Regions from separate parts of the Homo sapiens genome. Here all the other regions are linked to region 2. The links are contacts of gene promoters, found by promoter capture Hi-C in blood cells and fetal thymus (Javierre and others, 2016). All regions are on one chromosome and are shown on one strand. The core of a region is centred on a gene start or on the middle of the fragment in contact, and the rest is flanking DNA. Distances in the headings are between cores, read along the strand shown.

Evidence for each region. The method cuts DNA at HindIII sites, captures the fragments that hold promoters and counts their contacts. A CHiCAGO score of 5 or more calls a contact.
Region 1: a fragment that was not itself captured here is called in contact with the fragment with the promoter of UBQLNL in region 2 in 4 of 17 cell types (M2 macrophages, neutrophils, fetal thymus and 1 more); the score reaches 6.3 in M2 macrophages.
Region 3: a contact is called between the fragment with the promoter of OR52E8 here and the fragment with the promoter of UBQLNL in region 2, in 8 of 17 cell types (M1 macrophages, M2 macrophages, M0 macrophages and 5 more). The highest score is 8.6, in M1 macrophages.
Region 4: a fragment that was not itself captured here is called in contact with the fragment with the promoter of UBQLNL in region 2 in 1 of 17 cell types (M0 macrophages); the score reaches 5.3 in M0 macrophages.

What each region holds. Positions count from the first base shown.
Region 1 is chr11:5,799,561-5,802,262 of GRCh38, forward strand. It overlaps the pseudogene OR52N3P. Among named protein-coding and RNA genes, the nearest start is that of OR52N2, 8.0 kb to the right of the region's middle. The HindIII fragment of the contact is 3,367 bases long and covers 1-2,702 here.
Region 2 is chr11:5,515,430-5,518,129 of GRCh38, forward strand. It overlaps UBQLNL (ubiquilin like), which reads right to left and starts at 1,270. Exons shown (of 1, transcript NM_145053.5): 1 at 1-1,270. The coding sequence starts at 1,012. The HindIII fragment of the contact is 7,757 bases long and covers 1-2,700 here.
Region 3 is chr11:5,856,381-5,859,080 of GRCh38, forward strand. It overlaps OR52E8 (olfactory receptor family 52 subfamily E member 8), which reads right to left and starts at 1,310. Exons shown (of 1, transcript NM_001005168.3): 1 at 369-1,310. The coding sequence starts at 1,310. The coding sequence ends at 369. The HindIII fragment of the contact is 1,911 bases long and covers 267-2,177 here.
Region 4 is chr11:5,900,544-5,903,243 of GRCh38, forward strand. It overlaps OR52E5 (olfactory receptor family 52 subfamily E member 5), which reads left to right. Exons shown (of 3, transcript NM_001005166.5): 3 at 89-2,187. The coding sequence starts at 234. The coding sequence ends at 1,217. The region is part of intron 2 of LOC112268071 (a long non-coding RNA gene); the gene reads right to left. Among named protein-coding and RNA genes, the nearest start is that of OR52E5, 8.7 kb to the left of the region's middle. The HindIII fragment of the contact is 580 bases long and covers 1,161-1,740 here.

The sequences.
Region 1 (2,702 bases), core at 183-2,682, 280 kb after region 2:
TATCATGCTTATATATATCATGCTTATCAACATAGAGATTTGAGGAGAGTTAACAAAAAGCATGAAAATTACGTAGAGCTTAATAATGTTATTAGCTAAATGCAAACATTTCAAAAATATTTCATGCTTACCATCAAGAAACCTGAAAGAATACAAAAAGAGACGAATACAAAATACACATGGCCATGATTTATAAATTGTAACTTATTATGTACCTTTTTGGCCCTTCCCATCTCTGTCCTTGATTTTTCTGACTTGGAAAATCCAGACCTGCCAGGTTTACACTTGTATATAGATCAAGCTGAATCATAATAGAAGTGCATAATTGGTAGGTGCTGACATAATTTGATTAACTATAACCCAGTGGACACATCTCAAAGTATTTCTTGAAAGAAGGGATAGTTTGTAGTGAATTAAGAAAATCAATGTTACTTAAATAGAGTTTATAATTTGGAAATTGGTTGAGGTTGCAAAGTCAAGCATTACTAAATGGCCCAGGAATGTAAGCAGACACATATAAACAGAGTTTCCAGTAGAAAACCAAGCCAGGCCAGGGCTTTGGCACTATGTTTACAATATGTTTTTATTCTGTTGGTTCAGTTACAGTCATAGGACCATTCAATAGAATCAAAAAACATAGTTTGGATACAAAATGATTATTTTTTCCTAAATTTATTATTTAGATTGTGAAAAATGCGTTTTTATATTTTTTTCTCTGGATGAAAATAATCTCACTACTCTCTCCTTATACAGGACAACTTTATTGGCACAAAAACTAGCATGTTTTGTAATTGGTGAGCATCATGAATGGAGCCAACAGCTCCAGCCTGACACCAAGATATTTCATTCTCAGTGGCGTTCCTGGGCTGGAAGCTGCACACATCTGGATCTCCCTGCCTTTCTGCTTCATGTACATCATTGTTGTTTTGGGGAACTGTGGACTTATATACCTCATTAGCCATGAGGAGGCCCTGCACCAACCCACCTACTACTTCCTAGACTTGCTGTCTCTTACAGATGTTACTGGATGCACCTCATTTGTTCCCAATATGTTATGTATTTTTTGGTTTGGCCTCAAGGAAATTGACTTTAATGCCTGCCTTGTGCAGATGTTTTTCATCCACATGCTGACAGGCATGGAGTCTGGGGCGCTCATGCTTATGGCTCTAGACCGCTATGTGGCCATTTGCTACCCTCTACACTATTCCACCATCTTCACCAACACTGTAATTACCAAAGTTGGGCTTGTCACCTTCATTCAAAGTGTGTTGCTTATGATTCCATTTGCTTTCCTGATCAAGTGTCTTCCCTATTGCAGGGGCAACCTCATCCACCACACCTATTTTAACATATGTCTGTGGCCAAATTATCCTGTGGTAATGTCCAGATTAATGCCATCTATGGTCTCATAGCTGCCATATTGATTGGGGGGTTTGACATGTTCTGTATCTCCATGTCTTACACCATGATTATCCGTGCTGTAGTGAATTTGTCATCTGCAGATGCTGCCACAAAGCCTTCAGTACCTGTACAGCACATATATGTGCTATTTTCATCACTTATGTCCCAGCCTTTTTCAACTTCTTCACTCACCGCTTTGGGGGACACACCATACCTCATCATGTTCACATTTTTATAGCCAACCTTTACCTGATGCTGCCTCCCACCTTAAATCCAATTGTCTATGGAGTGAAGACCAAGCAGATCCGTGAAGGAGTGATCAAATTGTTTTTTAGAGAGAAAGGTATTTTAAGTATGACATAAATCTATGATATAGAAGTCTGAATCAGCATAAAGATAAAGTTATAGAGGAAGAGAATAAATGTAAGATTCAAAAACTATGAACTCAGGAAAAAATGTGAATATTCTGCCATAAATTTTATTAAATAATCACAAAATGTTTAATTCAAGACTTCAATGTGATAAAAGACATAAAATAGACAAGACATAATTATACATTTTACAAAACTTAACTTTAGTTAGACCTGTCGAATGGACTGAATCTCAAATGTCCTGTTATCCTTTCTAGTCTATATTTATGTGAAACTTGTATAACTTTAGAGAAAAACATCTTTGCCTGCTCATTTATCTCTGACATCCTGCTGCCTGGGTAAGTATTTGGATTTATATGAATGCTCCAGTGCACACAAAAATGAAGCTGCAATAAATGTGGTTACTAGAGTGATAACGATTGGGGAAATACTCTTTGCAGTTAATGTCAAGAACAATTTTGAAAGATTCAATGGATACTACTTGAGAGTTGTTTGAGGACAGGAGAGATGTAGAGGAAAGAAGACTTGAAGAAATCTATATACTTTGCCAATCAAAGATGTCTGGGCTTGACTGACTGATCTGAGTTTCATGTAGATGGAGAAGCAGCAGAGTGGTCAAGGACAATGGAGAAAGTAGTACAGTTGGCCCTCCTTATATGTGGGTTCTGCACCCTGGGATTCAACCAGCTGCAGATCAAAAATACTTGGAAAAAAATAATACAACCATAAAAATGATAGAAACAAATAATACAATATAACAACTGTTTACATAGAATTCACATTGCATTAGGTATCATAAGTAATCTAGAAATGATTTAAAATACACAAAAGGATGTGTGTAGGTTATATAAAAACACCACACCATTTTATATAAAGGACTTGATCATCCACAGATTTTATTATGGGTCGTGTCCTGTAACCACTCCCTCA
Region 2 (2,700 bases), core at 20-2,519:
CACCAGAGCTATTATAGATGACTCGGGTTGCAGGATGCTGTGTGAGCTGGTCTTGTTGTTCCTGTGATGGTGGTGGAGGTGGGGGTGAAGACTGGACTTGTTCTAGCACTTGTCCTGCCAGGAGAGCTGTGAAAGGGTTTCCTCCAAAAGGATCTTGCATGCTGTTCAGCATTTGATCATTGATATCAGCATAGTTCTGACCCAGGGCATTATTCCCACCTGGCATTGTCTCTAAGCCCAGATATGGCTGTGGGTTCAGTGGATACTCAAGGTTTTGTGAAGGTTGTTGGATCTGCATTATCTCTTGGATCATAGCAAGGTTCCTGGCCAGCTCCAGAGTCTGCAATAGGATCTCAGAATTATCAAGAAGAAGGCGGGAAACTTCTGGGTTCTGCTGCATCAATTGTTGCGTGTCTAGATGTTCTGAAATGAACTGCCACATGAACTCCATGTTGGACAGAAGCCGCTGGATGCTAGGATTCTCCAGCATCTGTGCTTTGCACTCTGGGTGGCTCACTTCCAAGTTTTGGGTATGCACTTTGGGTGCATCAGACCCCACAAAGTGGGCCAGTTCCACTGGAGCTTGATTCATACCAGTTGGTTGGTGCACTCTGCTGCTGTTTCCTTTGGTGTTTCTGTCCCGGTGGCAGGGATCATTCGTTGGCAGGTCCCGGAAGGAATGGGCTAGAGATCTGGAGCCCTGCTTGGACTTGATGACCAAGTAGATGGTGTGGCCATCCATGATGCCCCTCTGGCTCAGTGTGTCATGGTCTTTGAGAAGGCAACCCATGAAGACCAGCACTAGTTGGTCCATCTGGCATTGGAAGTGAGCCAATAGCATCTCCTTGAACTGCCTTACCGAGATGTCATCAGCTACCATAAAGTCTTTCTGGTTGCCTGCAGTCTTCACTATCACTCGAGTGGCACTTGAAGAGATATTTTTGTCTGCCAGCAGACCTGATGGACATCCACTCTGGGACATCCTGGATGTTCGAGAGATGGCATGCCACATGGGCTTTAGTGGGTGGGCAGATGGGGAGCAGGTGGAAGCTGGGGCAGAAAGGGTGAGGGCAGACAAATGTTTCTGCTGGCCTTTGTCTCAGGTATTGTGCTCTCAGGCCACAGGATAGTTTCCTTGTTGCCCTAAAAGGGATGAGTGACCAGACTGGGGCCAGATATTTTGTGATGTTGTGCCCTCACCCCAGTTCTCCAGATGTGGCCCAGCTGAGGCCTGGCATAGCTACTGATTCATAATTCACCCATGGTGGACAAAGTGGTGATGACTTCTCCTAGGGCTACCCCTCCTCCTACCCCACCCACCAGGGGCATGAATCCTCAGAAAAGGGATATTGTGATGTCAACTCTATCCTCGCAGTCACCCTGGGCCAGCTGGGGAAGGAGGACATATTTAGGGGTCCAGGGCTCTACAATAAAATAAAATAATTTTCCAGAAAACAGGGACAAAGTTCTCTGGATGGAACTAGTAAGAAAACAAAAAAGTAAATAAAAACCATATTTTTAAATGTGGGATGTGTGTTTCCGTGTGATACTGTGTGTATGTTCCTTATAGGGATGTTAGACTTGTATGAAAAGTTGGGTCTACTGAAGCCATAGATAAAGCCACATTCCTATAAGAATGCAGTCTCTCCCATAGGAAGGAGCGCATTAATTTTTTTAATGATCTGGAAATTTGGGTCTTATATAGAGTCTAGATTTTGGGATTCTATATTTAATTGTGCTCCCATGTGGTGGGGAAAATTTTCCTCTGTCCTAGGAAGCAGGAGTAGGGCTAACCAGGAAGGCTCTTCATAGGCACATGCCAAACTAAATGTGAATTAGCTCTTTTTTATAATATGCCTTTTATTCACATATCACTTGGTCTCTTCTACATGTCAATATAACAGAAGTTTTAGAATGATTTGTTTCAATGTCCTAACCCACTCTTGTGTGCCCACCTTTATGTCAAAGCATTAAGGGGGAATGTCGTCTGTAAATCAAGAGGTGGGAGAGGAGGTGGTTAGTAGTAAAATTCTTAAGGGGACAAATACAGGCAACTAAAAAGCTGGATTCTTGGTCCCATGTAAATTTGGAGAATTGTGTTTGGTTTTTATTTAGATGCAGATGGAAATAATTATTTATATGAGTGAGAGTGTACATGTCTTATCGAATGTATATATGAAATTGTATGCATATTCTGTGTTACTAGGAAGCCTTCAGGGTCTGGATTTTATATATTCCATCCACCTGCCTGGAGAGGGAGGAGCACCACACAGATAGCTAAGGAACAAGCAAAAAGCTCGAGCCCATATGTTCCCAGTGTGTTGAAGACAAGCAAAGGGATGATAGGCCGTTGGCCAGGAGACCTTCTGCTATCAAACCAATGATTCTTTATTGAGAATATCTAGACCCCCAGCACCATCCATGTCAGATCCTCATCATGCTATAAGGCCAGTTGCTAACTTACTACAGCAAGACTCAGGCCTATTCTCTTGCAATTGCACTCAAAAGTGAGATCGATCCAGGACAATGAAAAATTGATTACCAGACCAAGATCTTGCCCCTTTTCTCCCCAGGGACCTCACAGGAAGGTGGAGATAAGAAAGGGAACTTTCATATCCTACTCTAATGACCAGCTGCCCTGCAGCTTCTGCACTGGAATCAGGTGTTCCCAACCTGAGATTGACAATTCTAGATCACAGA
Region 3 (2,700 bases), core at 60-2,559, 340 kb after region 2:
AATTTTATTCCGTATTCTGTTATTTCTTAAACATACTAAAGAAAACTATAAGGCAGTCTATTTGGCTTAAATTACTACTTCCTATTAAACATGTAGTTTGAGTAAATCACTCAACTTTTCCGAACATAAGTATATTAATCACAAGAATGGAAAAACTAATACATACTTTATAAAACTGCCTTGAGGATCCAGCAATAGAAATAAAAGAACTTGGAAAAGGAGAGTTCGACAAGGGTAAAATTCTCATTATTATAATTAAAGTCAAAAGCTTCAGTTAACAGATAAATAATGTTATTGGCTGCAGCATTCCCTTCTGTTTTTCTGCTTTCTATTAGGTTAGAGTGACAGACTCTCCAACCTCCAACTGGTTAGTGATTGGTCTTGAGAAAAATCCTCAGCACTCTCTCTCGAATCTGCTTTGTCCTGACTCCATAGATTACAGGATTGAGGGCTGGTGGGACAACCACATACAGGTTGGCTAATATAATATGTATATACTGTGGGATATTATGGCCAAAACGATGTGTCAAGAATGAAAAAAATGCTGGTGTAAAAAAGGCTAAGATAACACCAATATGAGAACCACAGGTGTTGAGAGCTTTGAGTCGAGCTTCCCAGGAGGGCAGGCAGAAGACAGCATACAGGATCCTGACATAGGAGAGAATAATAAGGATAACATCCAGTAACAAGAGAGATATGTTGCCAAGGCCAAACCTAATGTTGACTTTGATGCTGGCACAGGCCAGACGGGCAATGCCCATGTGCTCACAATAAGTATGAGGGATGATACGATGCCCACAGAAGGGCAGCCTCAGAAGGAGAAACACCAGTGGAACAACCATGTACAGGCTCCTCAGGACAGCAATGCCTGCAATGAGGCTGATGATTTTGCTGGTGAGGATCATGGTGTACCGAAGAGGTTTGCAAATGGCAATGTAGCGGTCAAAGGCCATGGCCACCAACACAATGCTCTCCATAGCAGTGAAGAAATGGATGAAGAACATGTGAGAAAGGCAGCCTCCAAAAGATATTTCTTTGGTATTGAACCAGAAGATGCCCAACATTTTGGGGATGGTGGCTGTAGACAAGCCCAGGTCAATGGAATCCAACATGGCCAGGAAGTAGTACATAGGCTCATGGAGACTCTGCTCAGTCTGGATCACAAACAAGAGAGCAGTGTTTCCCAGGAGTGCAACAAGATACACAAAGAAAAAAGGGACTCCAATCCAAATGTGCACATCTTCTAGCCCTGGGATACCCAGCAGTAGGAATGAAGAAGGATGGAACTGGGTGTGATTAGACGTAGACATTCTTCCTGCCATATAAAGCTGCTGGGCACACCAGCGACGATTATAATATTCCTATTAGTAATTCTTGTTCCACTTCTTCTTTTGTTCAGATTTCTAGTCAAATTCACAATAACATATTAATCTTTCTTTATATATATTCATGAGTAAGGTAAAATACTCTCCACAATTTCTCCTAGCCTCTCCTGAGCAACATTGGTACCAGGAATAGAACCAGTCTTATTCTACTGCCCCTTCACCTAATATCAAAGACTAATATAAAAAGAAATGGCAGAAGAATGTCATCTGCCAAATAAAAATGCAAAATCTGGAATTTAGCCAGAACTAAATGAGAAAAATAAAGTTCCAGGGTCAGTGTCTATAGAAATGTTACACATATTTTTGCTTCACGATCAAGGTATTTGTAATCTCAACTATTCCTCTATTTGGGAATCAAAAATGTAGTGTGTAAAACCGTTTCTGTGTTGTTATGCATTTTTACAGGTATTTGTGACTACTAGACTGTATACTTCTATATACAATTTAGACTATACTGTATACAATTTGGGACTACTAGACTGTATACTTCTGTATACAATTTAGGCTGTATATACTGTATACAGTTTGTGACTACTAGACTGTATACTTCTGTATACAATTTAGACTGTGTATACTGTATACAATTTGTGACTACTAGACTGTATACTTCTGAGAGAAGAAACAATTTATCTTGCTCATATGCAGGAAAAAGATCTGCTACATAATAGTTCTCAATTTAAAACCTCCACAAATAGACATTGATTACAAGGAGGCAAAACTGTGGGTAATTTTAATGTCATATTTTAGGAAATAAATAATTTAGTTTCCATCACACCTGTGTTTGAGAAAAGAAGCTTATCCATCGGATTTGGAAAATGGGTAAAAACAAGGAAAAGAAAATACTTGACAAAGAGTATTTTGCAGCTATGATGGAACATGGATGAAGAGATAATTTTAATCTAGATAATCCTATTATTTGGAGAGTGCATAAATACACGCATTCAGTAAAGAAACTGTTTATATATAGGCCAGCTTTTTCTGTGGCAAGGAAACTAAATATTCTGGGCTACAAAATTTTCAAATATATCTCAGTCTTATATTCATGGGAAGAAAGTAGAAGCCCTTTGGATGACCTACAGTTTAGCTGCTACTCAAATTCTATCCCAGCTGTTTTGTCTCTATGGATGTCTCCAATATAGTAAATCCTGAATTTACAGATAGTAAATCCTGAATTTACGGATAGTAAATCCTGAATTTACAGATAGTAAATTCAAAATTTGAAGCAAAAAGTTCATTACTGCGCAACTTACTTTTACTTGGGAAAAACTAGTTTTACAGATAATGCGGAATTGGTTAAATGTGACGTGGCAACTAC
Region 4 (2,700 bases), core at 201-2,700, 390 kb after region 2:
AAACTTTCTGCATGGTTTCCTGTGTAAGTGAGGCAAATATTTAAAAGTGAGAGTGTCTTTTTAACTATATTTCATATTCCCTCTCTAGGTCTCTTATGCTATATTATGGAGTTAAAGAATGGATTTTCTGTTTCCCCAAGAAATAGACACCATGCTGTGAAAGAAGTTATGGTTTCTCACTGGAAGCAAGAAAACTCATGCAAGAAATGTGTCTGTAGGGAATGGCCACCAATATGCTTCATACCAACAATACACAGTTTCACCCTTCCACCTTCCTCGTAGTGGGGGTCCCAGGGCTGGAAGATGTGCATGTATGGATTGGCTTCCCCTTCTTTGCAGTGTATCTAACAGCCCTTCTAGGGAACATCATTATCCTGTTTGTGATACAGACTGAACAGAGCCTCCACCAACCCATGTTTTACTTCCTAGCCATGTTGGCCGGCACTGATCTGGGCTTGTCTACAGCAACCATCCCCAAGATGCTGGGAATTTTCTGGTTTAATCTTGGAGAGATTGCATTTGGTGCCTGCATCACACAGATGTATACCATTCATATATGCACTGGCCTGGAGTCTGTGGTACTGACAGTCACGGGCATAGATCGCTATATTGCCATCTGCAACCCCCTGAGATATAGCATGATCCTTACCAACAAGGTAATAGCCATTCTGGGCATAGTCATCATTGTCAGGACTTTGGTATTTGTGACTCCATTCACATTTCTCATCCTGAGATTGCCTTTCTGTGGTGTCCGGATTATCCCTCATACCTATTGTGAACACATGGGCTTGGCAAAGTTAGCTTGTGCCAGTATTAATGTTATATATGGATTGATTGCCTTCTCAGTGGGATACATTGACATTTCTGTGATTGGATTTTCCTATGTCCAGATCCTCCGAGCTGTCTTCCATCTCCCAGCCTGGGATGCCCGGCCTAAGGCACTCAGCACATGTGGCTCTCACGTCTGTGTTATGTTGGCTTTCTACCTGCCAGCCCTCTTTTCCTTCATGACACACCGCTTTGGCCACAACATCCCTCATTACATCCACATTCTTCTGGCCAATCTGTATGTGGTTTTTCCCCCTGCTCTTAACTCTGTTATCTATGGGGTCAAAACAAAACAGATACGAGAGCAGGTACTTAGGATACTCAACCCTAAAAGCTTTTGGCATTTTGACCCCAAGAGGATCTTCCACAACAATTCAGTTAGACAATAATGAGATCATAACAAAATAAACACTGGAAACATTTTTTTTACTACTTCTCTTGCATTCCCACATGAGCCAATAGCATTATATCCCCTACAACGTCTCATGATTTCAGTACGGTCTGTTGGAAGTTATAGCTCAAAGATTCCAAAACAATCTCTCTGTTTCACCCATTAAAAGTGCAAAAAGTACTCACACTTAAGCCCCATGATACTACAAAATGCCTAAAGAGAAACAAAGGCTTTGTAAAAGTTATTGCCCAGTAATTGTCTTGAATAGCCTTTCCACATGAAGATTCTCTGTATTTACATATCCAAAGCTGAAGTTCATGACGATTAAAATGATGTGGTATTTCATCAAAACCAGGCAGGATACAGTGGCAAGAGAAATTAACTAGGAGTCATAAGATCTAGATTTAAATACAGGTTATGGCCTTACCTAAAATTTTGACCTGAGCATTTCACTTAGACTCTTTGAGTTCACAATAACAAATTCATACTGATTTATAGCATTTTATGAGCAGGGATATTGAAGCTTAAAGTGAATGTTGTGAAAATCTGTGCAGCTTGTAAAACATTAAAAGATTTGGAAACAAAATGAGTGCTTACTAAACATAATTATAGTGTAATTGTTATTTCTAATGTATGTAGATTTCATTTACTAATCCACTCTAGTATACAATCCCTGGTTTGAGGTCAGCTCTCCAGATCCAGATTATCCCAACGCATGGGCCTCTTCATGGACCTCTCAGCTCTTACCTTCGTGAAAGAGACTTTCAGTCAGGAGACTATAAAGCTTGAAGAGTTAACAGGTTTCTGTCTTGGGCTTAAGGACTCAGGGAAATCCCATCCTCCACAGTCTTTGCTAGAGTGGGTTTTAGGGCAGACTGTAATAGTGTGGCTGCTGAAATAATATAAAGTCATTCTTAATAAGGTATAGAAGATAAATAGGACAATTTATTTCTTTGGGTATTCTAGGAGCTGCAAAAATGTGAAGTTGGCTCCTAATTGGAAATGGAGCCCTGATTGAAACTCAAGGTAGAATGAGCAGAAATGTACAGAGAATAGTGCGAAAGTAATAACAATATAAATAACAGTATAAATTGACAAGTGGAAGTAAACTGAAGTGATATGTCATATAAATATATAAAGAAAAAGTAACCAAGTAATCATTTTCTAAGTAGATATTTTGAAATTGATACAGAATTTAAAAAAAACTAAACAGATCATTTAACAAGGAATAAAGATGACAAAAAATTCATTGTGGAGTGTCTTCTAAGTAAAATACCACTTTTCAATTATAGTTTATTTAATGTATTATTATATAATATTTCAACTACGAAAATCTCATTTTAGAGCCTGAATATTTACATTTGTATATTTAAAGGCTCTAATATGTTCAATTTTGTTCACTCTACCCAAAATATGTTAAACCACCAGACCACTTAATTTTGGTATCATACGTTAAGAACTTCGACTAAGAGTTTTCCTGT